Linked DNA regions of Homo sapiens: region 2 is linked to region 1. Evidence: promoter capture Hi-C in 16 types of primary human blood cells and fetal thymus (Javierre and others, 2016). All regions are on one chromosome and are shown on one strand. The core of a region is centred on a gene start or on the middle of the fragment in contact, and the rest is flanking DNA. Distances in the headings are between cores, read along the strand shown.

What was found. Contacts are between HindIII fragments. The CHiCAGO score rates a contact against its expected background, and 5 or more counts as called.
Region 2: a contact is called between a fragment that was not itself captured here and the fragment with the promoter of CREB1 in region 1, in 16 of 17 cell types (M2 macrophages, naive CD4 T cells, total CD4 T cells and 13 more). The highest score is 16.4, in M2 macrophages.

What each region holds. Positions count from the first base shown.
Region 1 is chr2:207,525,260-207,532,121 of GRCh38, forward strand. It overlaps CREB1 (cAMP responsive element binding protein 1), which reads left to right and starts at 4,703. Exons shown (of 8, transcript NM_004379.5): 1 at 4,703-4,875. It overlaps LOC124907970 (a long non-coding RNA gene), which reads right to left and starts at 4,338. Exons shown (of 3, transcript XR_007088060.1): 1 at 4,177-4,338; 2 at 3,258-3,354; 3 at 1-673. RefSeq lists silencers at 4,072-4,251, 4,922-5,051, 5,082-5,131, 5,842-6,011 and enhancers at 4,272-4,471, 4,732-4,831, 6,420-6,862. The HindIII fragment of the contact is 5,804 bases long and covers 2,983-6,862 here.
Region 2 is chr2:206,800,892-206,807,190 of GRCh38, forward strand. No RefSeq gene overlaps it. Among named protein-coding and RNA genes, the nearest start is that of MIR3130-1, 21 kb to the left of the region's middle. RefSeq lists an enhancer at 5,842-6,299. The HindIII fragment of the contact is 5,469 bases long and covers 1-5,127 here.

The sequences.
Region 1 (6,862 bases), core at 3,453-5,952:
GTTGAAAATGTTAGGACATTTGAGAGGAAAGACAATCTGTTTTATTCATAATTTCCCCAGTCTCTAGAAGAATGCCTGGCACAAAGGAGGTGCTCCACAGATATTTTTAGAATAAATGAAATAGGTCACCATGGTCTTGGGGTTAGGTAGGAAAGCAAATCACAGGAGGTGATGAACTAGGGCAGGCAGGGTTCATGGAACTTGAGCTCACAGTGAGGGTGAAAATTATATTCGACAGCAGAAATGAGCAAAAAATAACAGGAAGAGGAAGTTGTGATTATAGAAAAGCTCTCAAATACTACTTTCTCTTTGAAGCCTTTTATAATCATCTTATGGGACCTTCCCCCTATTCTGGACCTCTTTCAAGATACTTTTCTTATACTCTATCAAGTTACATCCATGTGTGCTCCTCTTTCATCTCCCTGATATTGACCACATTTTGCAATTGGAAAACTGAGTCAAAAATGGGGGATCACCTGTAGTCCCAGCTACTCAGGAGGCTGAGGGCAAGAGAGTCACTTGAGCCCAGGGGTGTGGGGCTGTCACATGCGATGACCGCTCCTGTGTACAGCCACTGCACTTCAGCCTGAGCAACACAGCGAGAGACTGATCCTGGAAAAAATTTCTTTTAAAATGCAGGTGGCTTCCAAATCCCAGAGACAAAACTTGGATGCTGAAAGGAGAAATGTCAGATAGTGAGATTGAAAATGCTAGAGTATATCCGAAGAGAGAATATCCAAGAGAGAAATGTCAAAGTAGAGAGGCTGAAAATCTAGAGTATACCCAAAATGTTAGTAGTAAAATAACTTGCATTGGAATGAATGGATGATTGAATAAATGAATGAACAAAGTTAGGTGGGAACGGAGGTCATTTGAGCAGAAGTCAAGAAGAATATATGTTTTAATAATTGTTTGAGGCCCACTGGTCTGACAGTAAGGGCCCAAATGAATAGGGAAAGCTAGCCTCCAGTTAGAAGACACCTAGGAAGTTAGCAAAATAATCAATGATAATAGAGTCTAAATGAAGGTTAGTGTATATAAAAAGGAAGAATGAATATGAGGACATTTTTAAATAAAAACTCACCATATTTGGTGGGTGATAATTATAGGTTATGAGTAAATAATTCCAAAGTTTTTTGATATCATGTATAGAGCCACGGTAAGAAGAGCAGGAAGATGAACTCAATTTTGAAAACGTATTTGACACGAGGATAAGCTATCCAAGTAAAAGCTAGTAATAGGCAACATTTTTCCTAACATTGTTCCAAGTATACTTCACATGTATTATGTCACGTAATCATTACAATAACACTATGAGGTGCTATTATCATCTTTATTTTACAGATGGGAAAACTGAGGCACAAGAGTGAACAATTTGCCCAAAGTCATTAGCTAATAAGTGGCTGAGCCAGTGCAATGAATTCACCCCCACCCCTGTCTCCTGCAAATTCGTATTTTTGAAATCTTCACCCTCAATGTGATGGTATTAGGAGATGAGGCCTTTGGGAGGTAAACCCCTTGTGAATGGGATTAGTGCCTTATAAAAGCAACCCGAGAGCTCTTGCTCTCTTTCTGCATTGTGAGGTAAAGGGAAAAAACAGCCATCTACAACCCTGAAGAGGGCCTTCACCAGAACCTGACCATGTTGGCAGCCTGATTTCAGATATCCAGCCTCCAGAGCTATGAGAAATACATTTCTGTTGTTTATAAGCCACCAGTCTATATGGTACTTTACTACGGCAACCTGAACTCACTGAGAGCCAGGATTTGAATTCAAATGTTGAGAAAACTTTGCCCGGGACCACTCAGAAATTCACTATTTATTCGATAAATACCTAACAAGTACCACTATATTCTAGACATTGTGCTGTTGCTAGGGAGAGGAAAAGCTGGTAGTGAACAAGACAGACGTGGTCCTTACCTGCACAATTACATGGACACTAAACAAATAATGAGAAGTAGGAATTGGAAAAGAAAGTGATAAGTTACAGTTAAGTAGGAGGAATGGGTGACAGAAAAAAATTCCAGGGGAAGGGAAGGGCATGTGTAAATGCCCTGAAGTGAGAGCCTACAGTAGGGAATAAAAAGAGGAGAGCCTGGAAAAAATTAAAATACTATGGCAGGAGTGCAGGCAGCTAGGGGGACAGATGGAGAGGCTGGAGAGAAAGACAAGTACAGATAATGGAGCTTAGACAATGTGTGGTAAGCAAAGGGAGACCACTGGAGGAATTTAAGCAGGTCAATGATCAGATTTATATTTAAAAAATTACTCTGGCAGCAGTATGGCAAATGTATTGGAACGAGGCAAGAGCAGTTTTGGAGGACCTGAATGGGTTACTGTGGGACTTCAAGCAAGAGGCAACAGTGGTTTAGACTAGAATGGGAATGAAAAAATGGTCATGGGAACAGAGAGAGGTCACAAATCCAATTTTCCAGGGAGCAGACAGATGTAGGTGATTCTGCTGTGTGTTGGAGGTGTGCTAGGTTTCTGGCATGAACTGGGTAGATGTTAAGATACCCTTTACTGAACCAGGGACTATGGGAGGAGCGTTTTGAAGGAATTATGATATACGGGTTGAGTTTGAAATGCCCTAAGTCATCCAAATGAAAGTGTACCAAAGGCAGTATGCTGGGAACTATGAATGTAGGATTCCAGAGCAAGATCTAGGCTTGAGTTATGGATTGAAGAGTCTTTGACAGAGGGTATTTGATGCTGCTGGGAGAGCATAAGACCACCTAGGAAAGTGTATGGGGAGACTCAGTAAGAGGGCCAGGGTTCAGCTCAGCATGATTCCAATGTGTAAGAGGTAGATCAAGGAGGAGCTGGTTGTTAAAGAGCAAACTCAGGTAGGGAGGAAACCTGGGACATAAGACCAGAGGGAAGAGGGTATTTGGAAGCAACTGTGGTCAATCGCGTCAAATACTGGGATGAGGGCTTGTAAAATGAGGACTGAAAATGATCCGCTGCATTTACAGTCATGAAGCTTGTCTGTGGACAATTCAGAGCCACTTCAGGTGAGCGGTGGGGACACTGGAGAGGGCTGGGAGGTGGGACATGAAAGACTGTCCATGGGGTAAGAGACAGCTGCAGTTGTTGGAGAGCAATTTAGGGAGAAGAGAAATCTTTTTAAAGAATTGAAAGACTTAAGCATGTTTAAATACCAGTAAGAAAGAGCCGGTAGAGAAGGAAAGGTTGAGAGTAACAGAAGGAAAGGAGACTCGTTAAGGGCAAAGTCCATAAGAAAACAGTAGGGTACCTGGAGTACCAGGAAGGACAACTCTTTCTTTACAAGAGAAGTGAGTCATGGGCGGAGTCCAGAATCGAACCCTCTCTGCTTCCTAAAGACACGTCTCCTTTAAAGGACAGAAAAAGAATGATTAAGACTTGAGGCCGGGCGCGGTGGCTCATACGTGTAACCCCACCACTTTAGGAGGCCGAGGCGGGTGGATTACCTGAGGTCAGGAGTTCCATACCAGCCTGGCCAACATGGTGAAACCCCGTCTCTACTAACAACACAAAAATTAGCCAGGTGTGGTGGCAGGTGCCTGTAATCCCAGCTACTAGGGAGGCTGAGGCAGGAGAATCGCTCGAAACCGGGAGGCGGAGGTTGCAGTGAGCCGAGATCGTGCCACTGCACTCCAGCCTGGGCGACAAGGGCTAGACTCCGTCTCATTAAAAAAAAAAAAAAAAAAAAAAAGACTTGAAACCCCAAGGAGAGGGCTGCAGAGTTCACTATCAAGGAGAATGGGGACCTAGTGGTGCCGTCCTGAGAGACCTCTGAAAGAACAATTCAGTAGTTTCCAGCCACGGAAGTCCCCCTGCTGGGTTTAGGGTGCAGTGGGTGCGAATCCCTGCTGTAGAAAACAGGCTGAGGAAAGAAAGCGACACAGGATGTTGTCTGGAGAAAGGCGGGGAGGTAGGATGGGGCATATTTCCAGGGGTCCGGGCAGGTTGTGTGGCTTGGAGGCCTCCGAGGGCCGTCGACGTCAGCCATGGTCCGGGCAGAGCCCCGCAAGGTGCCACAGTATCGGGGCCAGCGCCCCCCGGAAAAGCATGCTCCGCTGGCGGCCGCCAGGTTTCTCCGCGGAGTCTCGGAAAGGAAAACCCGTCCCCACGGGGGTCCCACGACGCCCCCGGGTCCCAGGCCCCGGGACGTTGGCAGAGGCGCAGCAGACCTTCTTCCCCAGCCCGCACGGCTCCAGCGGTCCGGCCGCGTCCCAGCCCGGGCTGCCCGTCCCCCGTCTCCCGGCGGCGTCGGAAAGTTCCCGGGGCTGGCGGCGGTCAAGAGCAGAGCCAGGGCAGCCGCAGCCGCCTTCTAGCCCGCCGCTCACCGCCGCAGGGGCAGGCCTGAGCGGGGGTTTCCACCAAGTCGCCGACACCCCTCGGGAATTCCCCCACTGGGCCACACACAAACCCCGCTTCCTCCTTCAAATTTCCGCTGCCGGCTTTACCGATGCGAAAGCCGCGGTGGAGTTTAGACCACTCCTCCCGGCGCCGGGCTCAGCCCGCCTTCGCCTTCCCTCTCCCCGCGGAACCCCTTCTCGTCGCCCGAAGAAACCCGAAGGTCTTCGGCAAGTTCCGTCCCCAGCGCGGGGGCGGGGCCGCTCGAGCTGCTCCGGGCCTAGCTCGGCTGTTTCCGTGCGCGGCCGCTGCGCACTCGGCACTGGGCGGCGCTGGCTGGCTCCCTGGCTGCGGCTCCTCAGTCGGCGGCGGCTGCTGCTGCCTGTGGCCCGGGCGGCTGGGAGAAGCGGAGTGTTGGTGAGTGACGCGGCGGAGGTGTAGTTTGACGCGGTGTGTTACGTGGGGGAGAGAATAAAACTCCAGCGAGATCCGGGCCGTGAACGAAAGCAGTGACGGAGGAGCTTGTACCACCGGTAAGAGGAGCAGGAGGAGGAGGCAGGAGCCAGAGAGAGCCGGGGGGACGGAGGGGGGACGGGGAGGCGCCGGACACCCGCGCTTGGGGCCTTCCCCTCGCAGGAGGGGCCGCGGTAAAGATGGAGCCTCCGCCCGAGCCCCACAACATCGCCGCCGCTCGCAGCGAACAAAGAATAATGGCGGCGGACTGGAGCCAGCGGCGGCCGGGGCGGCAGCGACTCTGCCTGCAGCCAGCGGCGGCGCTCATGGCGGGGGGCGGCGGGCGGCGGGCGGCGGGCGGGGTGGGAGCCGGCGGCCGGGGGTGTGTGCGGGCGGCCGGCCGCGGCGAGCTGGCGCCCGCGTTCCCGCCGCCGCCGCCGGGCCGGGCGCGGAGCCGGGAACCCGGAGCCGCCCCGGGGGAGGCCGCCCGCTCGGCCCGGCGCTGCCCCCCGCGCCGCTCGCTCGTCCGGCCCCCGCCGCCCGCCTCGCCCCCGGCCCGACCCGGCCGGGCCTCCGGGGCAGCCGCCGCCTAGGTGCCGGTGGGGGATGGAGGAGGAAGAAGGCGACAGTTGAGGGCAGAGGAGGTGAAGGTGCCTGCTGCCTTCCCGGTGGCTTCGGTGCCTGCCATGCCCGCTTCGCAAGGGGAAGAGCTGCAACGTCTGACCTACTCTTCTCTCCACTCTTTGTGCAATAAAGTTCGAAACCCAAGGTTTCCTCTCGTGCTGTATTTTATTCGTGCCCTTTCCCCCCCGCTCCTACACCGTTGAGGAAATGCTGCTTTCTGCCCTGTGTTGCTTAGTTGAGAGATGAGAGCTTGTGCTTTTGGGGGGAATTTTTGACTCCCTCACCCCTTTGCTTTTTTTTTTTTTTTAAAGTCAGTCATGGAAATGCATGCTTTTTGGGAGAAAGGGTGCTAAGAAAAACATTTATAATAACTTTTTAAACTGTTGGGATCTTATAAAAGGGAAGCTGGTGTTTGAAAACAGTTTCGGTTTTAACCCTTTTTAATAAGGTAATCATCACTTGAGATCTATCATTCTGAAACACTTCGTTGGAACGAGTATCAGCCGATGTACTCTTGTTTTACATCATTTCGCGGGGTGCAACCTTGCCAACCGCGTTTGGGTCATCTGGATCTCCCCTCACCCTCCGTCCCACTCCCCCTACCATATTTCCCACGAATTTCTGTGTGAACTTTAATGAGAGATTGATTTAATACTACTACTAAAAATAGACATTAAAGTATCCATTATTTGTCTCATGCAGTAGGTAACCCCCGTCTTGAGATTGACAATTTAAGCCACAAGCTGTATTTTTTCTTCGCCTGTTGGGAAAAGAGGACAGCAGAAAAGTCATTGACACATTAAAAATTAAAAGACAGTTTTTGAAGGACGTGCGGTATGACCTATTTAAGTTTGTAATACCATCTCAAGTTATAATTCTAACCTCAGCTGGCGTCTAACTTCTGAAGGTTTAGTAGAAGATACTTTTGATTGCTGCCTATTGAAATCTTTTACATTTATGGCTCATTTCGTGATTTAAAAGTAAAGCCCCGAACAGTTATTTTAGGTGGTGCAAAAGACGAACAAGTTTGTTTTAAAAATACTTGTCTGTCACTGTATGATTGCATTGTGATTGATACGTACAAACCTTCTGGTTAAGAACAAATATTGATTGGCAGCAGAAGCACTGTCTTATTTTTCTGTATTCTAGTCACTTTTCCAAAACGTGCTTTGCTGTATTGCTTCTCTTTAAAAGACCACATTGGCAATTTGTCATTTCCAAGAAAATTAAGAAGAGGCAATAAAGGCAGGTTTTCTATAAAGATTGGGGAAATGATTTTATTTCCGAGCACTGAAAAAATTATAGTATTGATAATGGTAGCTTACCATTTTTCCTTTATGTTGTTCCGCAAGCCACTATCAGTAGAGTAGAATTTTTTTTCTTGTTAAGAATATAAGTCGGGCGCGGTGGCTGAGGCCTGTAATCCCAGCACTTGGGGGGTCG
Region 2 (6,299 bases), core at 1,143-3,642, 730 kb before region 1:
TTTGCTTTAGTTGGAAACAGGAAGCAGGGTCAGACCAACTTGTATTCATTTGCTGAGAGCTGTTGGAGCTGTGACTGATTCTGACAGATCAAATACCATTTATAACACTCCTGTGGGGGACACTTTAACCGGGGATGTTAGTGCTAGCCCCTCCAGAGACTAAGTATGTTTGCGGGATGTGAGGACCCCTGGAATATACAAATATGCATGCTAATGAATTTTAACAAAAATAACCCATTATTGTTTTCTGTGCAACACTGTGCATTTCTCAGCTACACCTGTCCTTTCCAACCTCAATTGCTGGGCAACCTATTTTTCTTTCGGCATCAGAAGCGATAGCATCTGGGAAGTGAATCTGATGAATTCTGCCTGGCAACCAACATCTTTCCAACTGCCAGATCCTGGGGTAAGAAACTGAGATGCTCTGGAGCTGGTTCAGGGCCAGAACGCACCTGTCCTTGAGGGCCTGGTGATGGGGGAAGGAGGCTGGCCAAATGCAGAACTTCTGAAAGTCCACTTCCTGAGTTCATTTCCATTTTGGCAAAATGTGACTTAGGTTTCCAAGGGAAGGAGTTTACATGTATTAAAATGTCTCAGTGGCTGAAGTTGCTTTGTGTCCTCCGCTAAAGCCTCCTACCATCGATTCCCATCTCCAACACGTTTTCAACTGTGGTGTTTTGGGAAGGTAACCATAGCAACTAATCTTATTCAGAAATGACTGGACCTAGGCAGTAAACGGCAAGGTAACCCCATGGTAATTTTCAGTGGAAACCCAATATTGATTCTAACAATTGTACAGGCTGAGCACTGTTAGCTATTTACTAAGCACTGTTCTCCTTTAAGACATTTGATTCTCACAACCCTGTGAGGTAGTCATCATTATCCTCTCTAACACTCGAGAGTTGGCCCATGGTTGTGCAGCTAATTAAATCTGCTGGACCCTGAAATCAGCTTTTTTCTCTTATACAGACTCTGCCTTCTAAGGAAAACTGGAGAGACGCCTTCCGGTGTCTATTTTGCAGGTAGTAAAAGTGAGTCACAGAATCATGGAAATTGTTCAAGGCAACAGCAGAGCTGCAGATCCTCTGCCCTAATCCCAATAATGCCTTTCTGTTATATGTAGAGCTTTAGAGCTCTCAAGATTATCTCATCTATTGCTCACAGCGGGTCTTTGTGATGATTATATCTATTTATAGATGAGAAAATTGAGACATGAAAAGGTTAAATGGCATTTCTCAAGGTCACCAATTACTATATTGAAGAACAAGAAATAAAATCCGTTTCTAATTCTCTGCTGCCTTACTAGATGTGGTGCTTTAAAAATATTTCATCCACTTATCTGTTTCAGAATGTATCAGATACATTAGGTACCATATATTATGTGTGGTTGACAAGATTTTCAGGATTAACTTTAATTCACCAGAGATAAACTTTATATCTAATGAGATCATCTTTATGGAAATACTGTTTATGAGTATAAATGTTTTTATGTGAGAATTATATATTCTAATGAATCTTTAAAAATCCATACTTCATGTGCTATAGATGCAAAATCATAAATTTATCTCTGTAAATTGCCTAAGATGATGGTAGAGAAGGGTGTTATGCTTAAAATTTTTAGCGCTGTAAAAGCTACAATAGTCTCAAGAGAAAAATGGTCAGTAATCTTTAACAGAGCCACCTGCCATGCATGGGGCCCAGTGTATGGAGAGGAAGGGTGGGGGCATAACCCCAATCCCACAGGGTATGTTCGGTGGCTTAGATTTGTTCACTCAGTGGGGTAGAGGCACAACTCATGAAGTGACACCCAGAAGCCTGGACTCCAAGTTCCTTTGAGAGCTTGATGTAGACCCTTCAAACATTGGTCGGGGGTGGGAGTGCGAGGTGAGAGTAGGAGGTGTGGGAAGGTGACTGGAGATAGAAGCCTGACTCTTGCCTGGAAAAGCCCAAAGGCAGAAGGCTGCCTGGAGCTGCTGCTGATGGCAGAGCAAAAACAGGTGGCTGTAAGAAGGCTTTTGGCTTCCAAGTTTTGCAGGGGAGAAGGGATGGCATGGATGCATAATATTTCCTGTGGATTAAACGAATGCTGAAGAAACTAGCAGGCTTGAGTCATCCTGAAAGGCACCTGTCCTAGAGGACGTCCTGCCAAAGCTCAGAAATCTCAGCAAAAAGAGGCTGTATGGGGTCTTCACAGTCAGCCTGAGAGTGCCTTGTGGGGGTCAGGTCAGGGAATGCTGTGGTGTAAGAAAGACACGCCATGGAAAGAGAGGTGGGAGTAGGGGTGTCTCTTAAGAACCCACAAAAGTCACTCATGTGAGGAGGAGCCAGCACTTGAGCATCTAGCACACAAAGGGCATCCTCGCAGACTGCAAGGTCACCAGTGAATAGACCCATTTACCTCTAGTCCCTCCTCCCCACCTGGCCCTGGAGATGCCAGAGGCAGCACAGTGAGCGGGGCAGGAGGAGCAGAAAACAGAGCAAGGGGGGCAAACAGCAAAAGAAGATTCCACAGCCTCCTCCCCCTGCTGCTCATTACTGAGCTGGAAGAAAGGAAGGAATCTTAGATTGGGTGAGAGCTGCATATTTTGAGAATAGATCAGGTGATGAGCTTTTTAATACCTTAAAATGAGGCTCTGCTAATAGCCATGTGCAACCAAAAATACTCTGGCATATGCCGGAGATGGCCTCTCTGAGGTGGGAAGGGAGAGCTGGCAGAGCCAGTGTGATGGGCAAGGGAGGGAAGAAGATGGAGCTGTTTCCAGCCTGCTGGAGCTACTGACCCAGCCTGTTCAATAAACTAGTGTCCCCTAGTAAGAGCCTTCCAAGTTAATCGAATGAACCCCTGGATTTCTTCTTGCTCTGTCACCCCCAGCAGTGAGGCTCACTCTAGAGTTTAGATCCTGCGTGTTCTTTTTCTTTTAACATCTGGTAGAAAAAGCACCCCCTGGCCTCTTCCACTTGGTTTCACATTTTCACTTTAGAGTTATCACCAAGTAGAAAAGCCACTTTTCCCTAAACTGCAGGCAAGAGCTGCAAACTCCCTCTAGGTGACTTTGTTGGGCCTTCAGAAGGTTAGAATCTGAAGGGAGTAAACATTACAATTAGGAAAAATTATCTCTTACAATAAAACATCCTCTCATACTGTCTGTAATAGCATATAATGTTACATGGGCCCGAACAATATGTATTCATCTGCAATTATTTATGCTCACCAGGGAAAAATTATTTGTTTATTGTTTTAATCATGATTAACCAGCAGTGTAATGATAGGGTGATAATGATAACAACGTGAAGAATGAAATGTTTGAGGTGCAAATGGAAGGCAAGATGCTAACCCTAGATGCTGAAAGTTTCTGGTAGAGCACAGAGGCAGGAAGTCTATTCTTTAGTGGTGTGTGTGTGTGTGTGTGTGTGTGTGTGTGTGTGTGTGTGTGTGTGTGTGTGGTGTGTGTTGGGGGAAACGCATGGTATAGGGGGTACATTTATCCTGAACAAGGACGAGATAGGAGTGGCCCAGTGCTCTTCTGACTTCCAAAGCCTGCTTTGCATTCAAGTTCAGGAGCTTAGGGCTCTCAAAGACTTCTTTTTCCTTCCATTCCTCCCACAGAATGAGAACAAATCCTGGTTAGAGCTACAGGGATCTTCCCAGCTTGTGAAAATTCCCATGTAATTGTTTCTGAGAGGCTGTCTTTCTTTCTCAGAAGTTCCAGAGAATTCCAGCTTCCCAAGGGCTGACCTTGAGTCATCCACACACCCGTTTTCCACCTTCTCAGCTCTGGAACAGGGTTTGGTTCCGTGGCTTATGACTTTCCCAAGGTTTCTGAGCTCGGTCCAGCAAGTAAAATATGTATCCCCTTCACTTAAGGAAGCAAAATTTTGTGGGCAAATTCTCAATCATGGCAAATCTTCATCTTTTGTATCTGGCTTTGGTTTAAACAAATGGTTAAAAGTACCTCCCAGCTAGCTTTGGTGAATGAAGTTGATAAAACTAAGTTACATTCCTTTTGATTAAATATAGGCATGAAGAGTTAATTTTTCTCTTCAGATAAGAACTAACTCAGAAGGCAGTTCCAGAAGAAAAGTGCATCCAAATATTTTGAACAATGACAGCATCATGGGAATAAGTGTACGGCATGTCTCCCGGGAAGAGTATTTGAAGCCCAAACCAACAGATACCACATAAAATACAACAATAGCCACTATCTTTTAAGCATTTTCCTCAAAGGTTGATTAAATGAAACACTTCAACTTTGGGGTAAGTATTATTAATGCCCACTTTATAGATGAAAAAATTCAGACTTAGACTTATCAGCCATGTGGCTTTGAGCAAGTAATTTAAATTTTTAGATTTGATTCCAGAGCCATATATCATATATGATATAACTTTGTACCAACCAAACAGAAAGCAAGTCATTTTCAAACAAATGCTTTATTGATTTTCTCTTATTTATATACTAGGATATGAAGTTAACAATACATTTTACATGGGTACCTTTCTGTCAAGTTGGAATGAATTTCCGCATGAATAAGAAAGGCCCATTTTCTCTTCATTTTTGTATTTTGAATAGTAGAGAGGCAAGGGAGAGAGAAGGAGGGCCACTGGGCTGAGAATCAGGAGACCTGGGTTCCAGCCACTGCCTCTGTCATTTAAATTCTCTAGGATGCCTGTTATTCCAGCACTTTGAGAGGTGGGCAGATTGCTTGAGCCCAAGGGTTCGAGACCAGCCTGGACAACATCGTGAAACCCTGTCTCTACAAAAAAAATACAAAAATTAGCTGGACTTGGTGGCATACATCTGTAATCCCAGCTACTCAGGTGGCTGAGGTGGGAGGATTGCTCGAGGCTGGGAGGTTGAAGCTGTAGCGAGCCATGATCGCACCACTGCACTCCAGCCTGGGCAAGAGAGGGAGACCCTGTCTCAAAAAAAAAAAAAAGAGAGAAAAGAAAAGAAAAAGGAAAAGAAATTCTCTAGGTCTTGGTTTCCTCAGTGATATAACAGTCAAGTTGGGATAGACCTTCTCTAAGATGTGGTGCTCTCCCTTCTTCGCAAATGCTTAGCATAAGCCCAGATTTCCAATTCCAACATCTGGTCAAAGGCCTTCCCCCTTGCCCCAAACCATGACTTAAGCTTGTAGAAGTGTATGCTGTCATCCTAGGACTAAGAATGTGCAGTGCCTCATAAATCAAATTCAACATTAAATTGCACTGCAAACAAAAAGTTTCACATGGTTACAATGTTGCTGTATGGAATTTAATGAGCTCCATATGCCTGACCTCTGGATATAAATGATTTGGGGAACTGTAGCTGTGAAAGAGTCTAAGGGCATCAGCATCTGGTGGTGTGAGTTACACAGAGTGAAGAGAATCGACCTCATTTTTGTACTATTGCCAAGCTTGGAAAGGTAGAAATACTCTGCAATCGGTATGCTCACCTTCTGAGAGAATGCTGACAGTTTTCCAGAATTTTTCTCACTCATCAGGAAGTTGTGGAGTCCAGTGGATTCTGACTTCCTTCCTGCAGTGCTCCCAGACACTCGTGCCTGTGAGGCCACTGGGCTTTCACTCTGTCCTGGGGAGAGCAGGCTCTCTTGTTGGACATATCGGTGACTTTTGATTGACTACTTGTACTTGTTTTGGTCGTCTCTGCTACCCATAAAAAGGTTCTGCCTAAAACCCAGATCTGACAATGTTATCAATGTTATTCTTCTCCCTTATTTAAACAATTCAGGACTCCTCTTTTTTGTTTGTTTTTAGACAGAGTTTCTTTTGCTCTTGTTGCCCAGGCTGGAGTGCAATGGTGTGATCTCAGCTCACCGCAACCTCCGCCTCCCGGATTCAAGAGATTCTCCTGCCTCAGCCTCCTGAGTAGCTGGGATTACAGGCGTGCACCACCATGCCCGACTAATTTTGTATTTTTAGTAGAGACGGGGTTTCTCCATGTTGGTTTTCACACGCGTCCGTGTGAAGAGACCACCAAACAGGCTTTGTGTGAGCAACATGGCTGTTTATTTCACCTGGGTGCAGGCGGGCTGAGTCAGAAAAGAGTCAGAGAAGGGAGATAAGGGTGGGGCCGTTTTATAGGATTTGGGTAGGTAAAGGAAAATTACAGTCAAAGGGGGTTTGTTCTCTGACAGGCAGGAGTGGGGGGTCGCAAGGTGCTCAGTGGGGGTGATTTTTGAGTCAGGATGAGCCAGGAAAAGGACTTTCACAAGGTAATGTCATCAGTTAAGGCAAGGACCGGCCATTTACACTTCTTTTGTGGTGGAATGTCATCAGTTAAGGCGGGGCAGGGCATATT